6 separate regions of the Homo sapiens genome follow, and regions 1, 2, 4, 5 and 6 are each linked to region 3. Evidence: promoter capture Hi-C in human tissues and cell types (Jung and others, 2019). All regions are on one chromosome and are shown on one strand. Each heading gives the region's core, a stretch centred on a gene start or on the middle of the fragment in contact. The rest is flanking DNA. Distances are from core to core; before and after follow the strand shown.

Region 1 (2,700 bases), core at 201-2,700, 510 kb after region 3:
CTCGTATACTGAGTGTGCCGGTCCCCTGGGCCCACTGTTCTTTCTCTATACTTTGTGTCTTATTTCTTTTCTCAGTCTCTTGTCTCCACCTGACGAGAAATACCCACAGGTGTGGAGGGGCAGGCCCCCTTCAAACATGTTGGTCAGGCTGACCTGGAACTCCTGACCTCAGGTGATCCTCCAGCCTCGGCCTCCCAAAGTGCTGAGATTACAAGCGTGAACCACTGTGCCTGGCCCTCACCCCAGTTTATAGATGGGGGACCTAACGCACCCAAAGGGAACTGTGTGAGTTCTCACATCCAATGAGGGGCTGAACCGTGATTGAAACCCAGCACCGTCTCACTGTGGCATCTCTGCCCTTGAGTTATCTCCCAAAGGCATCCCAACCAGACTTTTCATAACCAGTCCCAGAATCTCACCAGTGCTCCATAGCTGTGGTTGAGGCACTGTCCCCAAGCCTGGGTCCTGAGACCCTACCAGCAGAAGAACCACTGCCTGTCCAGCCCCTCCTACACAGCTCAGGGGCTGGATCCCCACCAGTGTGATGTGCTGATTGAGCTAACACCACTCCATGGCTGTCTACACAGGCACTGAGAGATGCAATCCGTTGGCTTGAGAGCCGGGCAGCTGAGCCCAGGAGAGCAGGGTCCCCTCCCAGCCCTTTGGCCTCTTCCAGACCTGCCCAGTTGCTCCTTCTCCCTCCCTCCTTTCCTGGGGTCACTTCTTCTTCCCTCCTCAGTCTCTCCTTCCTCCATTCCCTGGGTGCCCGCCCCTGCCCCGGGGTTCTGGACCTCCTTGGAACCTTGGATTCACTCTCTGCCTCTCACCCACGCTCTTTCTCTGGGGCGTCTCCTCGTGCTTCTCTCATGGTCACTTCACCAGGACCGACTCCTCCCCGGAGCCTGGAGGCACCCACTTGCTGGTGGGAGAGAGTGTCTGGCGTGGGGCCAGTCTCCCTCTCTGGGTCTCTGCCTCACTCCTCACTGCACCCTCTCATGCCTGTCAGTCTTTCTACCTCTCCCCCTTTTTGCCTCGGTTTCCCCATCCCTCTGTCCCTTCTTAAGCTCTCATCCTTACAGTACGCTAGAAGGCAGGCTCTATTATCCTTTAGGATTTAGGCCTCTTTAGATAAAAGGGCTCACAGGCTTGGAGGGTTTTAAGTGACTTACCCGGCGGCGGAGTACTGATCTTAGTACCGCCCGCCGCCCCGGACTGCCCCGCCCCTCCCTAGCCCCCCCATCCCCGCCCCTCCCTAGCCCCCCCATCCCCGCCCCTCCCTAGCCCCCCCATCCCCGCCCCTCTCCCGCCCCTCCCTTGTCCCCGCCCCTTCCCGCCCCAACTCAGGTTCTGCCCCACCCCGCCCCAATTCACGTCCTGCTCCGCCCCGACGTAGGCCCCGCCCTGGCCCCCGGGCCCCGCCCCCGTCTGACGCAGGCCCCGCCCCCTCTCCGCCCCGCCCCGGCTCGGGCGGCCGGAGGACCCGGAGCTAAGGCGCCCGAACCCGCGGCGGCGGTGGGGACGATGTGGTTCTTTGCCCGGGACCCGGTCCGGGACTTTCCGTTCGAGCTCATCCCGGAGCCCCCAGAGGGCGGCCTGCCCGGGCCCTGGGCCCTGCACCGCGGCCGCAAGAAGGTGAGTGCGGCCGAGCTCCGTAGGCCGCGGTCGACCTGGGCCTTGCCTATTCCGCGCCGCCGACCCCGTCGCGTTGCGCCCGGCCTGACGTGGCGGCGGAACCAAGGGGTAGCAGGCCGGGGAGGGGGCGGGCAGTGCCTACGTGGCGGGCGGAGGGACCGAGGGACCGACAGGCGGACAGGGCCGGGGTCACGTGGGCCCGGCGAAGTGTCCCTAAGGCTGACCTGGGGAGAGACCTGGCTGCGGGCCCTTGTCTTCCGGCCACACAACAGCTCTGGGACCATCTCAGGCCCCGCTGCCCTCCCCTAGGCCACAGGCAGCCCCGTGTCCATCTTCGTCTATGATGTGAAGCCTGGCGCGGAAGAGCAGACCCAGGTGGCCAAAGCTGCCTTCAAGCGCTTCAAAACTCTACGGCACCCCAACATCCTGGCTTACATCGATGGACTGGAGGTACCTGCTGCCTTGCCTGCCCGTCTCTGCCCCTCACGATGTCCTGGTTACCCACTCCTGTCTCCCCTCCTGCCCTGTTTCCACCCTATGTGCCCCAGCACCCCCAGATTTGGTTTCCTCTTCCCCATCTCTCCCAACTTCAAGTCGCTTATCTCTCCTTCCTCTCTGCCCCTCCGCCCTTGATAACCCTGTGTCCCCTTCCCCAGACAGAAAAATGCCTCCACGTCGTGACAGAGGCTGTGACCCCGTTGGGAATATACCTCAAGGCGAGAGTGGAGGCTGGTGGCCTGAAGGAGCTGGAGATCTCCTGGGGGCTACACCAGATCGTGGTGAGGTGGGGGGCAGTGGTGATGAGAGCAGGGATGGGGGGTTGCAGGTGCTGGGGCGTGATGGCTCCTTTTGCCCCCAGAAAGCCCTCAGCTTCCTGGTCAACGACTGCAGCCTCATCCACAACAATGTCTGCATGGCCGCCGTGTTCGTGGACCGAGCTGGCGAGTGGAAGCTTGGGGGCCTGGACTACATGTATTCGGCCCAGGGCAACGGTGGGGGACCTCCCCGCAAGGGGATCCCCGAGCTTGAGCAGTATGACCCCCCGGAGTTGGCTGACAGCAGTGGCAG
Region 2 (2,700 bases), core at 35-2,534, 340 kb after region 3:
CAGTTGCCTGCAGCGCTCCCAGGCCAGAGCAAGTGCTCTAGGATCTGAACTGCCCGCAGTGCAGCCCTGCAGCCTTTCCCAGGGCACGTTGATGTGCACACAGTTTCCCTGAAGGCAAAGTGAACATGTGGAGAGCTTACGTGGCAGCGCGTATGTCTTCAGTGTGTGTTTTAGAAGTCCAACTGTTGTTTTTATGTTTTTAAAGGAAAGATTTGAATCAAGCAGTTATGGGCCCCCTGAAGTATCCTTTTTTCTAGAACATTCTGAAAGTCATCCTTGCCTATGGGAAGCCTAGGCCGGCCTGCACTGTTATGTTCAATAAATAAGCAGGGTGCTCTGGGCTGGGGATTGTGTGAGGAGCAGAGCGCAGCCCGTCCTCATGCTTTTCCACTGAAGTAGGCCAGGCAGAGAGGGAGTACAGCAATGGATGCGCTTTGGCAGCTGAGTAGTCCGAGAGCCAGAAAAGAAATGTGGAAAATAAGAACGCTGTAGCAGGCCTAGGTGAGGAAATTTAGGAAGGGTTTGCGGGAGGTAGGATTTGAGATGGGTCTTGGAGAGTTGGACAGTGTCAGCCGGTAGGACGGGGGTGCGGACGGAAGCCTGTGAGGAAGGCAGAGGATGCGGAGCTGTGAGCGGAGGGAGCAGCGAGGCTGGAGAGCAGCTGGGCTGCGGGTCAAGACGTCTGCGTTTAATTCGGGACTGAAGGTTAGCAGGGAAGGGAACGATGCCAGATCTTGAGTTTAAGAACTTGAATCTTGTAAAGTACCAAATCTAATAAAATACTCGTCCTAAATCATTACTGGCCCAAGCATGCAGTGTTTCCGTGGCCGACAGACTCGAGCCAGCGCTGTCCATGGTAACCAGCTTTTGTGTGGCTTAAAGCTTGCATCCATTTTCTCCTTTCATCGTTTTCCCAAAACAATTCCGTGAGGGCTGTTAGCCCTGCTTGGTAGACGAAGAAGCCGATGCGGTCTAGGGTCACGGCCAGGGAGGCTTTGGGACGCCAAGTCAGCTCGGCGGTCACCACACCACCTACAGGGCTCGTCGGGCCCTCGGGGTCGGCGGCTGCTGGAGGCGCCCAGGGGAGTCCTGCTGGTTCCTGGCTCCGCCTCCCGCCCCTCCGCGCTAGAAGCCCCGCCCCCAGAGGGGCTCGACGAACCGCCACTTCCGCAACGTCCAATGAAACTTAGCCGGGGGAGGGACGGGGCGCCACTGAGGACCAATCTGCTTGGGCCGGGGCGGGGCTGCGGCGGGTGGGTGCAGAGGGGCCGCACCGCGGACTTCGCAGCCGGGAGAGAGCCCGGCGCGGGCGGCGCGCACGGGACTCTGCTGTGCGCGCGCCCGCCCGCCCGCCGTCCGCGCAGGCCCTCGGTCCGCTCTGCCCTCGGGGTCGTGGCGCCCATCCCTCCCCTGTTCTGCTGTCGCCGCCCGGACAGGGGCTCGGGAGCCGGGCTGGGGGCAGGGGCTGGAGCCGCGGGACCAGCGCCTGAGGTGGGTGCGGAGCGGGAGGCCGGGCGGGCGGGCGCCTGGGGCCGCCCCGCCGACATACTCCGGGTCGAGGGGGAGTGACCGGCCAGGGCACGGAGTCCGGCTGCCGGCCTGCCTGGGTCCGGGCGTTCGTTCCCGCGCCCTGGGACCCTCCCAGGCCACCACCCTCCCCGCGGGGACACCCCGCCCCTCCGCTGCCCGCAGCCTCCTCAGGCCTCCCGCCCTTTGTCGCTCGTGCACCTGCGCCCTCGGCCCTGCCCTCTCGCTCCCCTCAGGACTGACCGTCGCCTAGCCTCCCTCTCAGGACCCGGCACCAAATTAGCCTCGCTCCTTCAGACACCCTCTGTCCCCTTTGTCGTCTGTACACCTGTCACCTCAACTCTGTGTGCATCCACCCACCTCCCACCCCCCAGCGGCGTCATCTGAATCCAGCCCAAGCCGCCTCCCACTCCCTCCCGGGGGCTCCTCCCCCGCAGCCCCGTAGCCCCACACCTGCCCCCTCGGCCCCAGTCCCAGGCCCTCCCCCGTCCGTATGCCTTTGTTATCTCTGCAGCTGTCCCCTGCACTTTTCATCCTTCTTCCCGAGTGAGGCCAGACCCCAGCCCAGACTCCCCTGTCCTTCTGAGTGGAGAGACGCCCCCTCCCCAGCTCTGCCCTGGCATCCTGGGGACGGGGCCAGCCGGCTTCCACTCGGCCTAGCCACTTCCTCTTTCAGCGGGTCCAGTCTCACCCGGTGCCTGCGCAAGTCCTCATCTAATCTCTTTTCCCTCCTGCGCTCCTTTCCTAGCTCTTCCGGCCTCAGATTACTCTACCCGCTCAATCTTTCCTCCCCGCACAGGTGCCCCGGAGAGGCCATGGAGCTGAGCAGCAAGAAGAAGCTTCACGCCCTGTCCCTGGCCGAGAAGATCCAGGTGCTGGAACTCCTGGATGAGTCCAAGATGTCCCAGTCGGAGGTGGCCCGGCGCTTCCAGGTTTCCCAGCCCCAGATCTCGCGCATCTGCAAGAATAAGGAGAAGCTGCTGGCGGACTGGTGCAGCGGCACAGCCAACCGAGAGCGCAAGCGCAAGCGGGAGTCCAAGTACAGCGGGATCGACGAGGCTCTGCTCTGCTGGTACCACATTGCCCGGGCCAAGGCCTGGGACGTGACGGGGCCCATGCTGCTCCACAAAGCCAAGGAGCTGGCCGATATCATGGGCCAGGACTTCGTGCCCA
Region 3 (2,866 bases), core at 102-2,601:
TCCACCTGCCTCGGCCTCCCAAAGTGCTGGGTTTACAGGCGTGAGCCATGGCGCCCGGCCAGCATTTCCCATTTTGATCTTAGCTGCATTTCGAAGCCTCTGGGTAGGCGATATGCTCACTTTCTTCCTTGTGTGTGTGTGATGGAGGGTAAATGGTGCTGACCGAAGGGTCCCACTCAGGCAGCCTATCTGTTCAGCCCTCCTCTGACCACAAGCCCCTTTCTGCAAGATGGGAAGCTCCAGCTTCTTCCAGACCTCTCTCTAGGCAAACTTCATGGAGGCATGAAGACATTGTGCTTTACCATTTACTAGACCTGAGTTTGAATCTCACCCATGCTCCTTAAACACTCTGGATTCCATTATCATAGCTACGAAAAGAATATAAACCTCTCAGGGTTGCAGGGAGGATGAAGCTGAACACGTGAAGTGCGTTGCAAACAGTTACACAGGAGTTAGCTATTGTCCTCAGCTGGTGCTGACAGCTCTTTCCCAAGCATGAGAGAGGCTCTTCCGTGCTGCCTATCCACACTTACCTGCAGCAATAAGGCTGTCTCCTGAGTTTACAAAAGGGCTTGGTCCTTGACCTATTTCCTCACTTCTTCTGGACTTCTTGAGCGCTAAAGTAAAGAATGAAACTCTTGGACAAAGCCATTCATTCAACAACAAATATTTATTGAGCACCTACTACATGCCAGCCACTGTGCTAAGCACCATCTGGGCCTCAGTTTTTCCATCTGCAAAAGTAGGAACTGTGCTTCTGAACAGGGAAACGCTGGGCCTCTGGGTGGGGGCAGCCTTTGGGGCGGGACTGCAATTCCGTCATTGGAACCCAGGGACGCCCCGCATGTTTCCGAACGGCCTCCAGGGGGCACCGCCGCCCTGAACTGAGAGCCACCGGAGCCGGGTAGGGGGAGGCCCAACTTTCCGCTCTGTCAGAGGATGATGCCGAGGGCCCAGATGAGCAGGATTTGGACTGTGTTGCTGGGAACGGGGGCCTACACTGGCCCCAGGATGAGTTCGTCCGTACCTGGGGGCCCTGGGTTCTGACTCTCAGGTCAGACGCAGCCAAGATGCAACTCAGGAACTTCAAGGTTTCCGCTCCGGCCAAGAGCCCCAGTCCGGCAGGGGAAAGGGTGGGGGAGTCGCCCTTGCTCCCCCAGCCTCAGCCCTCGGGAGGCGCAGCGTCAGGGCGGGCGGCAGCACAGAAACCCCCCGCGCCGCTAGAGGGACCCTCGCAGCAGCTGCGCGGGCGACCTCGCGGTCACGTGCGGCAAGGGCGGGACCAAACGAGCGTCCGGCCAATCGACTATGCCGTCGGCGAGCGTGATAGCCAACAGGAACCGGGAGCGGGGTCCCGGGACTGGGAAGAAACGGCGGCCGGGAGGGGGCTCCGGGGACCATGGGGCTCCTGACCATTCTGAAGAAGATGAAGCAGAAAGAGCGGGAGCTGCGACTGCTCATGCTGTATCCTACCGGACGCCGGAACCGCGAGGGTGGCGGGGTCCAGCCGGGCAGGCGGTGCCGGGCGCCCCCTGTCGGGAGCGGAACGCGGCGGCCGGCGCGTCCCAACTGCCCCTGGCGTCACCACGCGGGCCCCATCAATCGCCCCGTCGGGCCGGGAGGAGCCGCACCCCAGGACTGGGGCAGGGGCCAGCTCCGAGGGCCGCAGAAGCGGTCCTGCAGGCGCAGCGGCGGGGCTAGGCGGCCCGAGTGTCAGGGGTGGTGGGTCCCGGAGATAACTCGGACGCCACCACCCGGCGGCCTGGCCCAAGCGTGGGGCCGCTGCCCTCCCGGCTCTGATCTCCTCCCCCGGGCCCGAGGGTTCCAGGCCCCGGCCCCGCCCTCGAGCTCCGAATCCCGGGGGCGTGCGGGGTGGCGGGTGGCGCGTGTGGGCTCCGCGGATCCTTTCGAGCGTGGATCCAACAGTCCGTCTCTTTGGTGTTACGCGGCCCGTGGTTGTCCCTGCGGCTGAGGATGTGTGTGTGTGGGCCCGAGTGTCCCGTGCGCCCTGTGCGCCTTCTGAGTCCAGTTAGGCGCCCGCACCTGTTCCCCCAGCTCTGTGCCAGGCTCCGCGGGGGAATGGCTGGGGAGATAAGACGCTTACGTGCACATATAACTTAATAATCACATCATGACTGTTTTGTTTTTTGAGACAGGGTCTTGCTCTGTTGCCCTGGCTGGAGTGCAGTGGCACAATCAAGGCTCACCGCAGCCTCCAGCTTCTAGGCTTAAGTGATCCTCCTGCCTCAGCCTCCCAAAACTCTGGGAATATAGGCATGAGCCACGGAGTCCGGCCCATGTCTGTTTTATTTTGTTTTGTTTGAGACGGAGTTTCGCTCTTGTTGCCCAGGCTGGAGTGCAGTGGCACAATCTCAGCTCGCTGCAACCTCCGCCCCCCGAGTTCAAGCAATTCTCCTGCCTCAGCCTCCCAAGTAGCTGGGATTACAGGTGCCCGCCACCACGCCCGGCTATTTTTTTAAATATTGTTAGTAGAGACGGGGTTTCACCTTGTTGGTCAGGCTGTTCTCGAATTCCTGACCTCAAGTGATCCACCCGCCTTGGCCTCCCAAACTGTTGGGATTATGGGCGTGAGCCACTGCGCCGGGCCGCATGTCTGCTTTAAAGAGCTCTAAGAAAAGCATACAGTTCACTCATTTGATAAATATTGAGTGCCTAATATGTGCTAGACACTGTCCTAGTGCCCAGGGTAATAAAACTAAAAAATCTTACCTTCATGGAAATTCTGTAATGCGTGTGTGTGTGTGTGGCGGGGGGGTTGCCCGCGGGTAGAAAGATGATAACACAGGAAGTAAGTAAAATATGTAATAGAGGCTGGGTGCGGTGGCACACACCTGTAACCCTAGCA
Region 4 (2,700 bases), core at 41-2,540, 320 kb after region 3:
CTCAGCCTCTCCAGTAGCTGGGATTACAGGCGTCCGCCACCATGCCCGGCTAATTTTGTTTTTGTATTTTTAGTAGAGATGGGGTTTCACCATGTTAGCCAGGACGGTCTCGATCTCCTGACCTCGTGATCCGCCCACCGTGGCCTCCCAAAGTGCTGGTATTACAAGCGTGAACCAATGCTCCTGGCCTGTTTTTTTTTGTTTTTTTTTTTTAAGAGACAGGATCTTGCTATGTTGCCCAGGCTGGTCTTGAACCCCTGGGCTCAAGTGATTCTCCCACCTCACCCTCTCAAGTAGCTGGGATTACAGGCATGAGGCATTGCACTCAGCTTCTTGTACAGCTTTCTTGTGTGTATATCCAGGAGTGGACTTTGCTGGGTCATAGGGTATGTGTATTTTCAGCTTTAGTGATTATATTTATATATATATATATATATATACATATGTATATATATACATATGTATATATATGTGTATATATATATATGTATATATGTGTATATATATATGTGTATATATATATGTATATATATTTTTTTTCCTTTTTTTTTTTTTTTTTCTTGAGATGGAGCCTCGCTCTGTTGCCCAGGCTGGAGTGCAGTGATGTGGCTCCAGTGGCTCACTGGAGCCTCAAACTCCTGGGCTCAAGTGATCCTCCCACCTCAGCCTCCCTAGTAGCTGGGATTACAGGCATGCACCACCATGCCCAGCTAATCTTTTTTCTTTTTCTTTTTTTCCTTTATTTATTTATTTATTTATTGAGAAGGAGTCTCGCTCTGTCGCCCAGGCTGGAGTGCAGTGGCGCGATCTCGGCTCACTGCAAACTCCGCCTCCCGGGTTCACGCCATTCTCCTGCCTCAGCCTCCCGAGTAGCTGGGACTACAGGCGCTCGCCACCACACCCGGCTAATTTTTTGTATTTTTAGTAGAGACGGGGTTTCACCGTGTTAGCCAGGATGGTCTCCATGTCCTGACCTCGTGATCCGCCCGCCTCGGCCTCCCAAAGTGCTGGGATTACAGGCGTGAGCCACCGCGCCCGGCCCCGGCTCCTGCTCCTCTAAATATTAGAGGCAAGCCTCGAACCGGAGCTCCGGGATGCATGCCAATCTCCGGTTGCGCCTGCGCGTCGGGCTCCCGTGGGGTCCACGCATTTCCTACCCGGCCCCCGCGAACAGGCGTAAAGCTCTTTCTTCAGTGCTCGCTCTAGTGCGCGCGCCCGGACGGCGCCTGCGCAGAGGGCAAGGAACCTGGTACCCCGGTGCGGTCCCGGCGCCTGCGCGCTGCGGACTGTGGGGCTTCTCGGCCCGAGGCAGAGGAACAGGGAAGATGGCGGCTGTGGTGGAGAATGTAGTGAAGCTGTGAGTGGTCGTTTCTTTCTCTCCTAGGGCGGCAGGTTTTGTAAAGGGCCTGGGAGTAGGGGGCGGTGGGGGAAGGGACTAGGCGGAGAGAGGGACATCCCCGGGAAAGCCATGTTGCGACTCCTGGTGGGGAGGGCAACAGGAGACTCCGGAGAAGACGTTGCGCTTCTTTGGAAACTTGTGGAGGCCCTGGTGGGGGCACACTGGAGCCCCGACGGGCGGCATCCCTGCGGGGCTGTGTGGCCTCAGCGTTCCTCGGGGCTGACGGTTTCCAGAGCATGGCGCCCTGCCTGCACGCGAGACTCACCGTCCCGGTCCTCTCCCGAGACGCCTCAGTCCGGAGGAGCGGGGCCGAGGCCCGGGCGGCCCTACGGCTGGCCCGCCGCCCACCCCGCCCCGTCCCGTCCCGTTCGCTGCAGCAACAGGCTCGGCGGCCCCTGCGGAGTGCACTGCGGGGCTGGCTGTTTCAGTTCCAGGCAGCCCCGTGATGTTTGGGAGGATCTTGGGTGGCAGGTACCTAAGACTACAAATATTCTTGGGAAGAATTTATCGAGGAGCGGATCCAGAAGGGAAGGAACTTCAGGGGAGTGGGCCTTGGCCCCGTCCAGTAGCAGCCATCAAAAACCTGCAACTGGACCGAAGCCGTTCAGGACAGCTTAGCCTAAAGGGGCATCTAGGTGGGCATTCTTCCTATTATACGATACCATTGTGCTGGTCAGATTTCAAGCAAAGTTAAAGTTAATAGCTGTTGGGGCCATGGACGCTGGCCTATGAACTGCTTCCTGTGAGTTAAAGATGCTTTGGGACTTGATTTATTCCTACAGAAGAATCAGAATGAGTTTTAGATTGGGTTAATGCATGGTGGGCGAATAGAGCTTCTTTTAATGGGTATGTTGGGCTTGGTGCAAGGGTGGGAAAATTGAGTGGTGTCTAGCTGTCCAGTCAGGGTTTTTGCATTTTGACTGGATGACGAGGTAAAGGTTCGGTAACTCTTCTAAGGGACTCACAGCTTCTCATCTGTCTTTGTCGTGGCCTGAGCCCCACTCTTCCTAAGAGCCTTTTTAAAGAGTAAGTTGCTTCTCCCTCCTGCCTGAAGCCTTTTCTTTGAGAATGCTTTCCCACTTCCATTAAGCTAAGTGCCTTTCCTCCTCTTGTGGTTTGTTTTTTTTTTTTTTAAGTTGCTTTCTGCTCTATCCTGCTGTCTCTTTCAGCCACCCCTCCTCCCAACGCTATTGTCTTTCTCTCTGATCTGCCCACTCCAGTTTCCCCAGCTCTTTCTTCAGGCTGACATTTTTCTCAATTTAGAAATGACACTGTTGATCTACCATTTATCCAGTTATCCT
Region 5 (2,784 bases), core at 118-2,617, 480 kb after region 3:
GGCTTCTGTTTTAATCCGGCATTGTTGAGAAACACACCCCGACAAAGTGCCTGAAACCTTGTGGCCGCTACCCCCTTGTCCCAGGAGATGTGTGTCTGTGGGATGTGGGCCACACTTGCATGAGGAAGAATGAATATACGTGTGTGTGTGTGTGTGTGTGTGTGAGCATGCTCATGGAGGATGTTTAATCAGCTTCATGCTGGGTGTGCCAGGCCAATACAAACATCTGCCAGGGACCTGAAGCATGACTGAAAAGATCAGGGACACAAGAACGCGGCTGCGACTCCCTGAGAGCTTCATTGTTCCTTCAGGCCACTTGGGAAGGTTCACTCAGCAGGCGTCTCCCGCGGTGACTCATCATGGGGCAAGGACAGCAAGGGCTGAGCCGGGCTCACTACCCTGCACTGGGCAGGGGGCGGGTAGGAGGTAGAGGGGTGAATGCTCCATCAGAGCTGCATGGAAACCACAGGTGGCCTCTGGGTTTTCTCCCCTGTCTCTGTGGATGGCAGTTGGTTCAGAAGTTCTGAACAGACCTCCAGAGCAAAGCAGTTCCCAGTTTCCCACGCAGTACAGCTAGCTCAGTCCCATTCCACTCCATCCTGATGGGCATTCGAATTTACGTCAAGTCTAAATCCGTTCTGTTCCTGTGGAATGATCTGTTCCTGTGGAATGATCTGTTCCTGTGGGAGCTTTTCAGTATTCTGGTTGTGTGTGTGTGTGTGTGTGTGTGTGTTATAAATTCCAAAAAAGATACTATTCCAATGTATTCATTGAGTCATTACTCAGTAGACACACATGGAGCTTCTACTGTGTGCCAGGCTCTAGTGATCTGGCAAATGACAGCTCTTTGCCTCAGTTTCCTCATCCGTCTAAGGGGAAAGCAACACCACCTCCCCCACAGGGCTGTTGTGAGGCACAGCACTCAATACACGTTACAGAAAATAAAGATGCACATGGAGTGGATAGACGGTTCTACAGACGCAGCCCCCAGGAAGGCATGGGGGACAGCCCAGTTGTGCCCCTCGATGTCAATCTGTCCTCCTACAGCCCACAGTGCTACAGCTGGGCTGCCACAGCCAGGCCTTTCGGGAGGATCCACCAATAGGCTTCAGGGCCCAGGGCCAAGTACATTACGCAGCAAATAGACCAAGGAAGGAACTAGGAGCCTGGAACTCTCAGGCAGGGGGTGGGGAATTGCTTTCTTAAGACACTTTCTCCTAAGAAAGAACAACAACAACAAAAAAGACACTTTCTCCTTTATTCCCCTCCCCGAAAGAGGATTCTATCTAACAAGGAATGCTTGCTAGAAGTAGAGGTGGGTACATTTAGAAGATGTTTTCTTGTCTCAGGAAGAGAGAATCTGTTTCCCCTACCCTCCTGCCCTGGTGATTCAGGGCTGTGATGGAAGAGGCCCCAGCTGCCTCTTCCGCATATCATTTTGGGAAGGTCAATGACACAGCCACTTCTAGTTTCTGTAACTCATTCTTGCTGGAATTGCCCTCAGCTCTCTGTGAAGTGACAGGCCTGTCTGCTGGGTTTCAAGGGATAATTTTACATGTTCTACAGGGTAAATTATTAGCTGTCCAAAACCCCCTAGAAAACAATGCTCTGTCTTCCATATCATAGAGCTCTGAGCTGCATCATCTCTGTAGGTTTTTTCCTGCTGTGGGGGCGGTCACAGTAGGTGAGGGAGCCTAAGTTTGTGCAGCAGCTACGGAAGGTCACATTGTTCCAGAAATCGGCTCTGGGAAGGTGGGCAGCCAGGGGATGGGATTGGGAACTGCAAATTCCTAAAATCTTTAGAAAACAAGAAAGTTTGGGCTGGGTGTGGTGGTTCATGCCTGTAATCCCAGCACTTTTGGAGGCAGAGACAGGCGGATCACTTAAGGTCAGGAGTTTCAGACCAGCCTAGCCAACATGGTAAAACCCTGTCTCTACTAAAAATATGAAAACTAGCCGGGCATGGTGGCAGGCACTTGCAATCCCAGCTACTTGGGAGGCTGAAGCAGGAGAATCACCTGAACCCGGAAGGCAGAGGTTACAGTAAGCTGAGATCCCGTCACTGCACTCTAGCCTGGGTGACAAGAGCAAAAAACTGTCTCAAGGAAAAAAAAAAAAACAAAAACCAAGAAAGTTGTTTTCTTGGGACTGTCTTTGCCCTTCATTTCTGACCTGCATTTCTAGAGAGCTCTAGAAATGCAGAATTAAAGAAAAAATTACAGGATTAGATAAAATCAAAGGAGGCCTGGGAGGAATCCAGGTGCCATGAAGACTCAGCCACTGCGGCCTCTGGGCTCCAGGGCCGTAGATGACGGATCTCTCAGAAGCTTGTCTCTTGACTAAGCCTGACTGGACTTGCCAATCAGGGAAGGGGTGGAGTGGATTCTGGCATTCTCTGGAGGTTTCCGGCCTGGCCTGAGTCAGGAGGATTAAGGTAGGGCCTTGCTGACTGTATGCTTGGAGGCTGGATGCAAAATTTTTGCCCTTTTAGTCCTTTTCAGCACCCCGCCTTCTCGAAGGTACAGCCAGGAGGCCTAAGATCTTTCCTTTTTCTTTTTTTTTCAGACAGTCTTGCTCTGTTGCCAGGCTGGAGTGCAGTGGCACCATCTCAGCTCACTGCAACCTCTGCCTCTCGGGTTCAAGCGATTCTCTTGCCTCAGTCTCCCGAGTAGCTGGGACTACAGGTGCCCTCCACCACACCCCAGCTAATTTTTGTATTTTTAGTAGAGATGGGGTTTCACCATGTTGGCCAGGGTGGTCTCGATCTCTTGACCTGGTGATCCG
Region 6 (2,701 bases), core at 104-2,603, 300 kb after region 3:
TACCTACCATGATCCCCTTCTTCCCATCCGGACCTCCCAGCTTGTCTGGCATCTTCCCCCACCCCCAGCATCCTGCCTCCCCCACTGAGGTCTTCCCGGCTCTGCCTCCCTAAAAGCCCTTCCCACACTGACAGCATTGAAGCCAACCATCCTGGTCACACTGAGCTGGCATAGCTGTCATCCTCTAGAAAGTGAGGTCTGTCCACCCCGTCACTACCCACCACTTCCTCTGCCCCACTCTTCTTAGCACTTACCCACCTGGAAGGGTATCATGATGTACCTGGGAACTTGGATTTCCCCCATTTCCCTTCTCTGGGCTGCAGGTCCCAATCCAGAGGCTGAATCCCCAGGGACAAGAACAGCGCTAGGCACTTGGTAGATACTCAACAAATCTCTCTTGAGTCACTGAGAGGTGCAGTTTCCTTCAGTCTGTCTCCAGCACCCTGTGCGGTGCCTGCCCTTCAAAACATGTTTCTGGGCCGGGCGCGGTGGCTCACGCCTGTAATTGCAGCACTTCGGGAGGCCGAGGCGGGCAGATCACTTGAGGTCGGGAATTCGAGACCAGCCTGGCCAACATGGAGAAACTCCGTCTCTACTAAGAATACAAAAATTAGCCAGGTGTGCTGGCACATGCCTGTAATCCCAGCTACTCGGGAGGCTGAGGCAGGAGAATCTCTTGAACCCAGGAGACGGAGGTTGCGGTGAGCAGTCTGGGCAACAAGAGCGAAACTCTGTCTCAAAAAAAAAAAAAGTTTCTGGCCCTGTAGGAATGACTGACTGACTGACTGAAAGAATGAATGGACCAGGAACTAGTCTGAATATGAGCCCCACCTTCACTCTGGAAGCCTGACAGCAAAGACGGGGGTCCAGGCCACGCGGCCTCTGCCTTCCCATACTGTCTTTTCTAGTGGGAGGTAAACTGATCAACTAGCTTGTAAGTTTGTAGTATTCTAACGTAGGCGCTTCCAAGGAAGTCGCTGAATATACTTGTGCCGGCGCTTCCCCGACGCAGCCCTGCAGGGAAGGATCCGGTCCAAGGTCTCTCTGCGATTTCTGAAGAATTCGGTCTTCCCGGAGCCTCTCCCCCGGCTCTTCTAGAACCGAAGGTTTTAGTTCCCATGGGCACAGCCGGAGGCCGCCTGCGCCACCCGGCCCTCAGCCGCCAGAACCAGGACAGGACTCCAGGGCGCGCGCGACCGCTGGACCCGGGAGCGGCACCTCCCACGCCGGGAGCCCCGGGCGGTGCCCGGAGTGGGGCGGGGCCTGGGCGGGGATGGGGAGGGGCTTGGCTGGCGCGGCCCCGGCATTGGCTCCGCGGGCCGGGGCGGGGCTGCGGGGTCCGCGGTGCACTCTGTAAGTTCACCGCCGGTCGGGTCCGGCCGCCGCGCTGTCCAGCTCCTGAGACCTTGCTGTCCGCCGGTCTGCCGTCTGCGCGCCTCACGGTGAGTTCGGGCTGGGATTTTCGCAGCTTCGCGGGGGTCCCCCGAGAGGCCCATCTCTGTGGCGCCCCGCCCCAGCTCGCGCCCTGGCTCTGCCTCTCACCTCACTCAGTTCCTTTCGAGGGCTCCTAGGGCTCCATGGGGCTTCCCACCCGCATCTGGGTTCCCGCAGCCTCGCCCGTGCCCGCCACGGTCCGTGGGGGCGCAACGCATCCCGACCCCGAATTCCCCGTTCTGCCCTCCATTTTGTGTCCGGGCCCCCGCCCCCCTCCCGAGACCCAGGGGTGCCCCGCCGCCCAGCATCCCCACCGGGGCTGGGGGCCGTATTTTTAGCCGATAGTGAGTTGTTCTCCTATCTTTAGCTGCGGCCGCGAATGTCCTGAAACGGATCCGGGCTGGGCTGGGCTCCGCCCGGGTAGGAGTGGGGAGGGGTCGGCGCAGGAACCCGAGCCGGAGCTAAGGAGCCGGACCCGTGGGAGGGGCGGGGGCCCGCACGCCCGAGCTCTGGCCCTGTGCCGAGCGGACACTAGGACATCGCCCAGGCCGGAAAGCACAGGGGGGAGGCTCCTCCCAGAGCTTGGAGACTAGGGCAGGGTCCCCAATCGCCCCCTTTTTCCCCGATTGTGGGACCAGAAACCCCGAAGCAAAAAGATCTCGCAGGTAATCCCCATCTGGTACTTGAACGCGCAGCTCCTTGGGGACCGCCTGCCTGGAGCCCGGGGGAGGGGCGCTGGAGACCCCGGTGCGCTCTCGGAGTCCTCCGGGACACGAGGCGATCAAGGGAGCACGCGCGCCACCTGGCGGCCGCGGAGCCGGGCACCTCTCCGGAGGCACCGGGACCCCGGGAGACCCAGCGGCCGCTAGAGGGTCTCTGCATCCTCGAGGTCTAGGAGGGCGGGAGGAGGTGGACGCCTGGGGTCAGGAGCCCTTCGTTTTTGCTATTGTTCAAAGCACTGGCCCCGGAGAATCGAAGTGCTTGAGGAAGGAAGGCCTTGTAGATATTTGCTGAATGAATGATAAAACCTACAGTGACCCGCTGAACCCCGCTATTGTACATTGGCGCTCTCACCTGCAATATTGCAGTGGGATCTCCAGTGGCCCTTTAGTGGTGGCTTCGTTGTCAGCCCATTTTATAGATGGGAAAGGTGAGACCCAGAGAGGAGAGGCGTCTTGCTGAAGGTTACTGAGGAAGTCCCAGGTGGAGCTGGATTTAAGGACAGTCTCCTGATTTAGGAGAAGAGGGGGTGTGAGGTGGCCTAATA

The links. The method cuts DNA at HindIII sites, captures the fragments that hold promoters and counts their contacts. A contact is called where the count stands out against the background at its distance.
Region 1: a contact is called between the fragment with the promoter of SCYL1 here and the fragment with the promoter of ARL2 in region 3, in 1 of the 25 tissues and cell types used here (dorsolateral prefrontal cortex).
Region 2: the fragment with the promoter of TIGD3 here is called in contact with the fragment with the promoter of ARL2 in region 3 in 3 of the 25 tissues and cell types used here (dorsolateral prefrontal cortex, lymphoblastoid cells and spleen).
Region 4: the fragment with the promoter of DPF2 here is called in contact with the fragment with the promoter of ARL2 in region 3 in 1 of the 25 tissues and cell types used here (lymphoblastoid cells).
Region 5: a fragment that was not itself captured here is called in contact with the fragment with the promoter of ARL2 in region 3 in 1 of the 25 tissues and cell types used here (hippocampus).
Region 6: a contact is called between the fragment with the promoter of CDC42EP2 here and the fragment with the promoter of ARL2 in region 3, in 1 of the 25 tissues and cell types used here (liver).

What each region holds. Positions count from the first base shown.
Region 1 is chr11:65,523,633-65,526,332 of GRCh38, forward strand. SCYL1 (SCY1 like pseudokinase 1) reads left to right here and starts at 1,451. Exons shown (of 18, transcript NM_020680.4): 1 at 1,451-1,632; 2 at 1,942-2,082; 3 at 2,289-2,411; 4 at 2,492-2,700. The coding sequence starts at 1,522. RefSeq lists a silencer at 1,299-1,798. The HindIII fragment of the contact is 17,278 bases long and covers 1-2,700 here.
Region 2 is chr11:65,353,467-65,356,166 of GRCh38, forward strand. It overlaps TIGD3 (tigger transposable element derived 3), which reads left to right and starts at 1,285. Exons shown (of 2, transcript NM_145719.3): 1 at 1,285-1,491; 2 at 2,327-2,700. The coding sequence starts at 2,343. It overlaps DPF2 (double PHD fingers 2), which reads left to right. Exons shown (of 11, transcript NM_006268.5): 11 at 1-796. RefSeq lists silencers at 1,013-1,072, 1,163-1,482, 1,503-1,562, 1,573-1,742, 1,803-1,992. The HindIII fragment of the contact is 4,951 bases long and covers 1-2,700 here.
Region 3 is chr11:65,012,809-65,015,674 of GRCh38, forward strand. It overlaps ARL2 (ARF like GTPase 2), which reads left to right and starts at 1,352. Exons shown (of 5, transcript NM_001667.4): 1 at 1,352-1,464. The coding sequence starts at 1,400. It overlaps ARL2-SNX15 (ARL2-SNX15 readthrough (NMD candidate)), which reads left to right and starts at 1,352. Exons shown (of 11, transcript NR_037650.2): 1 at 1,352-1,464. RefSeq lists a silencer at 1,199-1,958. The HindIII fragment of the contact is 13,144 bases long and covers 1-2,866 here.
Region 4 is chr11:65,332,562-65,335,261 of GRCh38, forward strand. It overlaps DPF2 (double PHD fingers 2), which reads left to right and starts at 1,291. Exons shown (of 11, transcript NM_006268.5): 1 at 1,291-1,357. The coding sequence starts at 1,326. RefSeq lists an enhancer at 1,543-1,592 and a silencer at 1,643-1,732. The HindIII fragment of the contact is 14,713 bases long and covers 1-2,700 here.
Region 5 is chr11:65,491,655-65,494,438 of GRCh38, forward strand. No RefSeq gene overlaps it. Among named protein-coding and RNA genes, the nearest start is that of LINC02736, 5.0 kb to the left of the region's middle. RefSeq lists silencers at 8-509, 2,204-2,498, enhancers at 184-478, 1,315-1,825, 1,826-2,337, 1,829-1,958, 2,204-2,498 and a cis regulatory region at 2,237-2,479. The HindIII fragment of the contact is 5,007 bases long and covers 1-2,784 here.
Region 6 is chr11:65,313,513-65,316,213 of GRCh38, forward strand. CDC42EP2 (CDC42 effector protein 2) reads left to right here and starts at 1,354. Exons shown (of 2, transcript NM_006779.4): 1 at 1,354-1,442. It overlaps LOC105369344 (a long non-coding RNA gene), which reads right to left and starts at 1,177. Exons shown (of 3, transcript XR_007062727.1): 1 at 259-1,177. RefSeq lists silencers at 1,012-1,391, 1,852-1,981, 2,152-2,311. The HindIII fragment of the contact is 18,736 bases long and covers 1-2,701 here.